Linked DNA regions of Homo sapiens: regions 1 and 3 are each linked to region 2. The links are contacts of gene promoters, found by promoter capture Hi-C in blood cells and fetal thymus (Javierre and others, 2016). All regions are on one chromosome and are shown on one strand. Each heading gives the region's core, a stretch centred on a gene start or on the middle of the fragment in contact. The rest is flanking DNA. Distances are from core to core; before and after follow the strand shown.

Evidence for each region. The method cuts DNA at HindIII sites, captures the fragments that hold promoters and counts their contacts. A CHiCAGO score of 5 or more calls a contact.
Region 1: a contact is called between a fragment that was not itself captured here and the fragment with the promoter of HOXA2 in region 2, in 1 of 17 cell types (neutrophils). The highest score is 5.3, in neutrophils.
Region 3: a fragment that was not itself captured here is called in contact with the fragment with the promoter of HOXA2 in region 2 in 1 of 17 cell types (neutrophils); the score reaches 6.3 in neutrophils.

Annotation. Positions count from the first base shown.
Region 1 is chr7:26,803,334-26,806,560 of GRCh38, reverse strand. The region is part of intron 4 of SKAP2 (src kinase associated phosphoprotein 2); the gene reads left to right. LOC124901606 (a long non-coding RNA gene) reads right to left here and starts at 999. Exons shown (of 3, transcript XR_007060265.1): 1 at 914-999. The HindIII fragment of the contact is 3,407 bases long and covers 16-3,227 here.
Region 2 is chr7:27,101,257-27,104,183 of GRCh38, reverse strand. It overlaps HOXA2 (homeobox A2), which reads left to right and starts at 1,501. Exons shown (of 2, transcript NM_006735.4): 1 at 1,501-2,074; 2 at 2,719-2,927. The coding sequence starts at 1,684. RefSeq lists an enhancer at 827-1,666. The HindIII fragment of the contact is 6,069 bases long and covers 535-2,927 here.
Region 3 is chr7:26,774,003-26,776,988 of GRCh38, reverse strand. The region is part of intron 4 of SKAP2 (src kinase associated phosphoprotein 2); the gene reads left to right. Among named protein-coding and RNA genes, the nearest start is that of SKAP2, 89 kb to the left of the region's middle. The HindIII fragment of the contact is 3,443 bases long and covers 1-2,986 here.

The DNA of each region.
Region 1 (3,227 bases), core at 470-2,969, 300 kb after region 2:
ATTTCTTACCAAGCTTAATCATTTCTAGCTTTGTTTGTTTGCTTTGCAGCCTCAAATTCCCAGGCTCAAGGGCTTCTCCTACCTGTTTCCTGAGTAGCTGGGACCACAGGCATATAACGCCATACCTGGCTTATTTATATTTTTTATATTGATTTGTTTATTTATTGATTGATTGAGATGAGGTCTCACTATATTGCCCAGGCTAGTCTCAAACTCCTGGGCTCAAGTGATCCTCCCACTTTGGCCTCCCAAAGTGCTGGGATTACAAAAGTGAGTCTAGCTTTTGATTTAAAGTGAGAGGTGTGTGATTCTTCCTTTTATTTGAAAACTTAGAAGTCATTGTAGGGTTATTAATTGGCCTAATTTCAATATTGTTATGTCTCAGGGAATAGGGAAGCCCAAGGAGAGGGAGAGAGACAAGGGGAAGAGTCAGTCAGTGGAACAATCAAAACATACACAATATTTATCAATGAAATATGCTATCCTATATGGGTGTGGCTCATGGTTCCCAAAACAATTACAATGGTAACTATAGATCACCGTAACAGATATAATAATAATGAAAAAGTTTCAGATGTGAAAATTACCAAAAGGTGACACAGAGACACAAAGCCAACACATGCTGTTGGAAAAATGGTGCCGATAGACTTTCTCGACAGAGTTGCCACAGACCGTCAACTTGTAGAAGGTGCGATGTCTGCAATGTGCAATAAAGTGAAATGCAATAAAATGAAGTGTACATATATTTATTATTAAGTAATAAACCTTTTATTCTCACATTTCTGTGAGTCAAGCATTGGGGAATGGCTTAGCAGTCTCTGGCTTAGAACTATTCATGAAATTGCAGTCAGAATTTTAGCTGAGGCTGCAGTGATCCGAAAGTTTGAATCCACTTTCAGGGAGGCTCACTCACATGGCTGCAAGTTGGTGCTGACTGTTGTCAGGAGGCCTTGGTCCCTTTTCACATGAGTTTTTCCACTGTCTACTTGAGTGCCCTCATGACTTTGTAGCTGGCTTCCCCCGAAGAAAGAGCCGAGTAGAAGCTATATATTTTTTTATGACCTAGTCTCAGATGTCACATAGCATCACTTTAGCCACATTCTGTCCTTTAGAATCAAATGGGTGAAGTTGACCCCCATTCAAGGGGAAAGGGATTAGGCTCTGCCTTTCGAAGGAGGAGTGTTAAGGAATTTGTGAACTCATTTTAAAATCAGCATACCTGATTAGAATAATGAAGAAAGTAATCACTGGTAACAGAAATAATTCCTACAAAAATTATGGTATACAACTGTCTAGAGACATTTTCTGTACATATATGACATCATAGTCTGTTGATTGTTTCATAATCTGATTAAAAATTTTTTATTTTAAAGAGACAGGGTGTCACTATGTTGCCCAGGCTGGTCTCAAGCTCAAGGGAACCTCCCACATCAGCCTCTAAAGTAGGTGGGAATATAATTGCTCACCACCATGCCCAGCTTTATAATCTGATTTCAAAACTAACCCCTGTTAAAATTGTAGTATATTATCTGTCTAGAGACATTTTCTGTGCATATTAGACATCATATTCTGGATACTGTGTTTTATACTTTAATTTTTTCATACTATAGGAAACATCTTTCCATGATAGTAAGCATTTTTTATACATTGGCTGTTAATCTTTTAAGGATTTCCCAATAATGGTATTTCACTGTTAACTGGCTTTTCTTTTTACTAGTTGATGGTGAATTTAAAAAATATTTTATTCATTATTTGCATTTTTAATAAATTGCCTTTTTATTTATTCCTGCATTAAAAATTGGCACTTTTTTTTTTTTTTTTTGAGACGGGGTCTCACTCTGTCACCCAGGCTGGAGTGCAGTGGTGCTATTTCGGCTCACTGCAACCTCCGCCTCCCGGGTTCAAGTGATTCTCCTGCCTCAGCCTCCTGAGTAGCTGGGACTACAGGTGCGTGCCACCATGCCTGGCTAATTTTTGTAATTTTAATAGAGACAGCGTTTCACCACATTAGCCAGGATGGTCTCAATCTCCTGACCTTGTGATCTGCCCGCCTTGGCCTCCCAAAGTGCTGGGATTACGGGCCTGAACCACCAGGCCCGGCCCGGCACATTCTTTTTATTAAACATTATGTGTTAAGGATTCTAAAACATTATCATGTAAGGTATAAATATTTCTTCTTTGCTTATAATTTGTGGTATTGATTAAAACAAATTGTAGAAGTATAGAGTTAGAAAGGATAACAGAGGAAATTTAGTCCAACACTTCTTTTTAAAATTTTTTTAAAATTATTTTTTAAAAAATTTTGTGGGTATATAGTAGATGTATACATTTATGGGGTACATAAGACATTTTGATACGGGCATGCAGTGTGACATAGGCACATCATGGAGCATGGGCCATCCATCCCCTCAAGCATTTATCCTTTGAGTTCCAAATAATCCAATTACATTCTTTAAGTTATTTTAAAATATACAATTAAGTTACTGTTGACTATAATCACCCTATTGTGCTATTCAATAGTAGGTCTTATTCATTCTTTCTATTTTTTTCATACCCATTAACCTCCCCCTCCAATCCTCCACTACTCTTCCTCGCCTCTGATAACCATCCTCTACACTCCGTGTCTATGAGTTCAGTTGATTTGATTTTTAGATCCCACAAGTAAGTGAGAACATGCAGTGTTTGTCTTTCAGTGCCTGGCTTATTTCACTTAACATAATGATTTCCAGTTCCATCCATGTTGTTGCAAATGACTGGATCTCATTCTTTTTTATGGCTGAATAGTACTCCATTGTGTATATGTACCACATTTTCTTTATCCAGTCATCTGTTTATGGACACTTAGTTGCTTTGAAATCTTAGCTATCATAAATAATGCTGCAACAAACGTAGGAGTGCAGATATCTCTTCAGTATACTGATTTCCTTTCTTTTGGGCATATATCCAGCAGTGGGATTGCTGGATCCTATGGTACCTCAATTTTTTGTTTTTTTGAGGAACCTCCAAACTGTTTTCCATGGTAGTTGTACTAATTTACATTCCCACCAATAGCATACAAGGGCTGTCTGTCATTCACATGCTCGTCAGCATTTGCTATTGCCTGTCTTTTGGATATAAGCCATTTTAACTGGGGTGAGATGATGTCTCATTGTAGTTTTGATTTGCATTTCTCTGATGATCAGTGATGTTGAGCACCTTGTCATATGTCTGCCATTTGCATGTCTTCT
Region 2 (2,927 bases), core at 252-2,751:
AGTCTCAAGTCTCCGAATTGGAAAAAAGATAATGAAGGAGAACGAAAACCTTTATAATTCCTCCTTGGGTCGCCTCCTCTCCCCCGCAGTGCTGTTTCCCACAACAGAACCCGGAAGCAAACATCCCCGGTGCCCAAGGATCAGGAAGGTGTGGGAGGCAGTTCAGGCTGCCAGGGAGCACTCGCTGTATCTAAACCAACCAGCCCCCAACCAGAGCGACAAGGACAAGAAGAAGGGTAGAAAAAAAAGAGAGAGGGAGGGAAAGAGAGGAGCAAGCATCTTCTCTTTCCCTGCTGGTAACTTCCAACAGACTTCCTGGAAATCGGAAATACTCACCGCACCCGAGCCCTACGGGTATGAAACCCAGAATGCCAGGAGCCGCACGCGCCTGCTCGGGGCGGCATTTCTTTGGCTGGCCGCCGCCCTGGCTACGGGGATTTGGACACATGGACCTGGGGTTGTTGTCTCGCTTGGCACATGCATCTTTCTCCAGCCACTCCTGAGAAGTTGATGGCGCAGGAAGGTCGGGAAGCTTCGAGAGCCGCCTCCCGTTTTCCGCTTCCCGCCGGAGCCAGATGCAAAGCTGCCGTGGAATAGCCTGCTAACAATGGGCCCGGGGCGCAGACTCTGGGCTGGACACTGGGAGGGGGGCGAGAGGCTGAGGGGAGAAGGGGAGGCGGACAGAAGAGAGAGGGAGGGAGAAAGGGGGAGAAGAGGAAAAAGAGGGAAAGGGACAGACAGGAAGGAAAACAGACCGAGAGAGATCAGTTTTGAGATCCAGGAACTGCTTTTAGGAAAAGTGAAGGAGGAAAAGGGAAAGAAAAGGAAGACCCCTTCCCAACCAAAATCTTTCCTTTCTTCTCTCTTTTCTGTCTTCTCTTTCTCCATCTCTCAAACTCTCTCTTCTTCCCTCTCTCTTTATTCTCCCTCTCTCATCTCCTCTCTTCCTCTGCTCCTTTCTCCTGCTTTAACAGAACTTATGTGGCTGGGACGCAGGGCCCTCGGGTGTCAAAACTTTGAAGATTAATGGATTACTTTGTTAATGACTGCAGGCGTCAGACTGAGGTGCTTAAATGATTTGTGAGGTGCGAGGCGTCTTCCCGACAGTCCCAAACAATGCGCGGAGTGTGCGGGGGAGGCAGAGGGCAGCCACCGGCGGGACCGACAGCAGGGCTTACACTCGCGCACATTCACACACACACACACACACTCCCAGGCACACACACTAGATAGATCCTTGCAGATCAGGAGGCACGCAGGCACCCTCGCCCCCACGTACTCCGGGACATCCCCACCCACACCAACATATATGTATTTTTGCTCTGAAAAAAGTGTAAATAAAGCCTCGCTGGCCCCCAATGAGGCGTTCCTTCCCGACTTTTTTGGATCAATCAAACAGACAGTGGCTTCTTTTGATTAAAGCCCAAATTGTCATTGGGCAGAAGCAATCATGTGACAGCCAATTCGGTCCAATTTCAACCTTGTCTCCATGAATTCAATAGTTTAATAGTAGCGCGGTCCCCATACGGCTGTAATCAGTGAATTAGAAAAAAAACACCCTAGCAGCGATATTCTATGATAGATTTTTTTTCCTCTGCGCTCGCCTTTTTCCTAGGCCTTGCCCCCCCAAAGCCCCTCCAAAAGAGGGAACTTTTTCTCTGAGGGGGCTCCAAGGAGAAGGCCATGAATTACGAATTTGAGCGAGAGATTGGTTTTATCAATAGCCAGCCGTCGCTCGCTGAGTGCCTGACATCTTTTCCCCCTGTCGCTGATACATTTCAAAGTTCATCAATCAAGACCTCGACGCTTTCACACTCGACACTGATTCCTCCTCCTTTTGAGCAGACCATTCCCAGCCTGAACCCCGGCAGTCACCCTCGCCACGGCGCTGGCGGCCGCCCCAAGCCGAGCCCCGCGGGCAGCCGCGGCAGCCCGGTGCCCGCCGGCGCCCTGCAGCCGCCCGAGTACCCCTGGATGAAGGAGAAGAAGGCGGCCAAGAAAACCGCACTTCTGCCGGCCGCCGCCGCCGCCGCCACCGCCGCAGCCACCGGCCCTGCTTGCCTCAGCCACAAAGGTCAGTCCAAAGACTTGGCCCCAGGTCTCTGGGACCCTCTTCCTTCTCCGGGCTGCCCCGAGAGTGGCTGTGGGGGGAGGGGAGAGTGGGCTGGGAGAGAAGGAGGAGAGGGAGAGATGCTTGGTTGCCTTGTCCCTGCCCCTGTGGGTTCAGGAGTGGGTTTGATGGAGAGGAAAGGGGATCCTGCGCTCTACAATGAGACATATATATTTTTAGGAAGTGGGGGGAAACTTTCCCGAACTTGTGTAATGTGGGATGATTTATTTGAGTTGGAACTGACCTCCTCCTGTCTAGTTGTCCTAGAGTTTGGCTTTTTGACAGTAATGAAGAGTGATAGATCGCTCTTGCTCAGCTAAGCAGCTGACGCATTAATTATAAATTGTGTTGTGGCTAATATAAAGTTTGCTCCCGGATGAAGAGGTTGGGGGGAGCCACAGGCATGAATTCGATAGAGATGGAGGAGACGGGGTCTGCCCAGGCTGGGCTCCCAGGAAAGGCAGCACAATAGCTCTACTGCATCCAGGGGCGGCCATTTTGTTGCAGTTGATCTTTTCTGCTATATTTATTCTCCAGTGGAATAACCCCGCTCGGACCCCTCCACCTCCAACTGTGCGTGTGTCTCTTGTTGGTTTCCCTTTCCGCAGAATCCCTGGAAATCGCCGATGGCAGCGGCGGGGGATCGCGGCGCCTGAGAACTGCTTACACCAACACACAGCTTCTAGAGCTGGAAAAAGAATTTCATTTCAACAAGTACCTTTGCAGACCCCGAAGGGTGGAGATTGCAGCGCTGCTGGATTTGACTGAGAGACAAGTGAAAGTGTGGTTTCAGAACCGGAGGATGAAGCACAAGAGG
Region 3 (2,986 bases), core at 188-2,687, 330 kb after region 2:
TCACTGGTTTGTGAGACAGAACATTTGGGAATGGCATGTAGTTTGGAATGATGACAGCACAGGATGTAGATGTGCCAGAGGTGAGAGAAGGTGGAGAGGTAGACAAGAGATAGATTTTGAAGGGCTTTGTATGTTGTGCTAAAAAGTCAGGCTCTATCACATAGACAGTGAGGAGCCATTGTAAGATCTTAATGCAGGAATGACATATCAGATTTGTGATAGGTGTCTAAGTAAGAGGACCTTGGCAGAAGTATGGAGAATGGCCTTGAAATACCAGAAGTAGGGACAAGCTGTTGTTGTTGATCCAAAAGAAATGATAAATTATAAGAGCTTAAAGAAATGGTAGTGAGGAGTAAGAGGAGGGCATAAACTCAGATATTTCGGAGATAGAGTTGATGGGACTTAGAGACTGATTAGCTATGGAGGGTGAAGGAAAAGAAGTAGAGATGAGTCTGAAGTTTTGAGATGACTAAATAGATGTGATGCCATTCATAGAGATAGAGATTATAGGAAGGAAAGGAGGTGGTTGGAATTAGGTCAGTCATACAGAGGAAGGAGGTAATGAGTTCAGTCTTAGACATTAAATTTAGAAGATAAAACATTTAGGCATTTGAAAATATCCATATGGAATTTAAGAGAAAGATCTTGGCCAGAGTCTTCAGCATACAGGGGGCAATAGAAGTTATAAGTGTGGGTAAAATTACACTGGGAGGGTGTGTAGAATTTTAGAAGTGAAAACACTGAAGATAGAATGCTGGGAGGATTTCACCATTAAGGACGGGGATAAGGGGCATAAGAGTCTACAAAAGTAGACTGAAAAACTGTATAAAACGACCAGGAGAGAATGGTTTGACTAGAAGCCAAAGGAGAAGAGCGTTTTAGGGGAGAGATGAGTCAGTAGTGTCAGCTACTTGAGAAAGGTAAGTACTAAAAATTGTCCATTGAATATGCAATCAGCATATGAGATATCCATGGAGCAGTATGTGCAGAAGTCAAATTGTAGTGGATTGAGGAATGAAACATGAAAAGTAGAGAAGCAAACTACTCTTCTAAAAAGCCAGGTAGAAACAAACTATGCTATATGCATACCTTGGAATACCAGTCAACAATAAAAAAGAACAAACTATTGATACACATGACAACTTGAATGAAACTTTGGGCAGTTACGCTGAGTGAAGAAAAGTCAATCCCTAAAGGTTACATACTGTATAATTCCATTTATATGACATTCTTGAAATGACAAAATTATGGAAATGGAGGACACAGAGTGGTTGCCAGAATTTAGGGAAGGGGGCGTGGGAGGGAGGTGGTTGTAGTTATAAAAGGGCAACAGGAGGGATCCTTGTGGTGTTGGAACTTTTCAGGATCTTGACTGGGTGCATACATTAACCTACACAGGTGATGAGATTCCATAGAAAACACACACACACACACACACACACACACACACACACACACGTACAAGTAAAACTGGGAAATCTAAATAATATTGGTGAATTGTGTCAATGTCAGTATCCTGGTTGTGTAATTATACTATAGTTTTGTAAAATGTTACCACTGAGGAAAACTGAGCAAAGTGTATAAGGGATTCTGTATTATTTCTGAGAAATGCATGTGAATCTAAAAGTATCTCAATAAAAATTTCAAAAAAATTTAAAAGTCAGGTAGTGAAGGGGAGAAAAGAAGGGACAATAGCCAGGGAGTTGCAAAGTTAAAAGGGGAACTTGATCATGTTTTTATGTTGTGGAGGAGGCAGCACTGGAGAAGGAGAGATTGAGATGCCAGGGAGAAAGAACTTTCTCTGAATCAGGAGGAAAAGTATAAGGTTGGGTGTGAATATGAATGTGTGTGTATATGTTTATGAGAAAAGCGAAGAGAGTTGCCTCTTGATAGTGTTTGTGTGCATGTAAATCTCTTAAGATTCACAAAAAAGGACCCTAATAATTGCAGATTAATTTTGTAATCAATGGCTGTGACAGACTTTGGTATTGTGAATTTAAAAGATCCCTTTAGAATAAGAATTAGCAACTCTTTAGTCCAAATCAACATGTGTGATGTGATACCATTTACCTACCACAGACAGTAACAAATCAGGTGCTTGTTAACTTACATCAGTTACCGGGCTGTTCCTTTTATTGCAGTTGTAGTCTGATAACTCAAAATATTTTCAACAGGGTTAAAAAAAGTCTATCTAGATTATTGGTGTTATCCACATCTCTCTGACCTAGAATTTGAATCAGCACCATGAAACACTTTACTATTTATAGTGTATCTTGAAATCCAAAGTTTTAGAATGGTATTGCTGGCTTCTTAGGCTTTGGCAAAAGAAGTGGTGGCATGATTCATATTCATTCTGGGAAAGAGTGAGTGAGGATAGTCACCTGGAACTGAGGGGTTGGCTATTCACAGGAGAGATGATTTTGACTGGTAGCATATACACATAGGTGTGTATGTATATATATATATACATACACACACACACACACACAACTTGATCTTGTTCTTTCTTCCACTGACACTTCGCATTTCAGTAAGGTAAAGAAGCGGGGATCATTTTTTCCCTCCTTTCTGCCTTTTGCATATTATGTGGGGTGTGTGTATGTGTGTGTGTGTGAGAAGACTTTCTGTCTTCAAAGTGGCCTTTGATATGCTTTTATTTTTATTTTTTATTTTTTTGAGACGGAGTCTCACTCTGTCACCCAGGCTGGAGTGCAATGGCACAGTCTTGGCTCACTGCAACTTCTGCCTCTCGGGTTCAAGGGATTCTCCTGCCTCAGCCTCCTGAGTAGCTGGGACTACAGGCATGCACCACCACTACCAGCTAATTTTTGTAATTTTAGTAGAGACAGGGTTTCACCATGTTGGCCAGGCTGATCTCGAACTCCTGACTTCAAGTGATCCACCCACCTCGGCCTCCAGAAGTACTGGTATTATGGGCATGAGCCACCATGTCCTGCCAATAGGCTTTTAAAATCTGATTTTACCT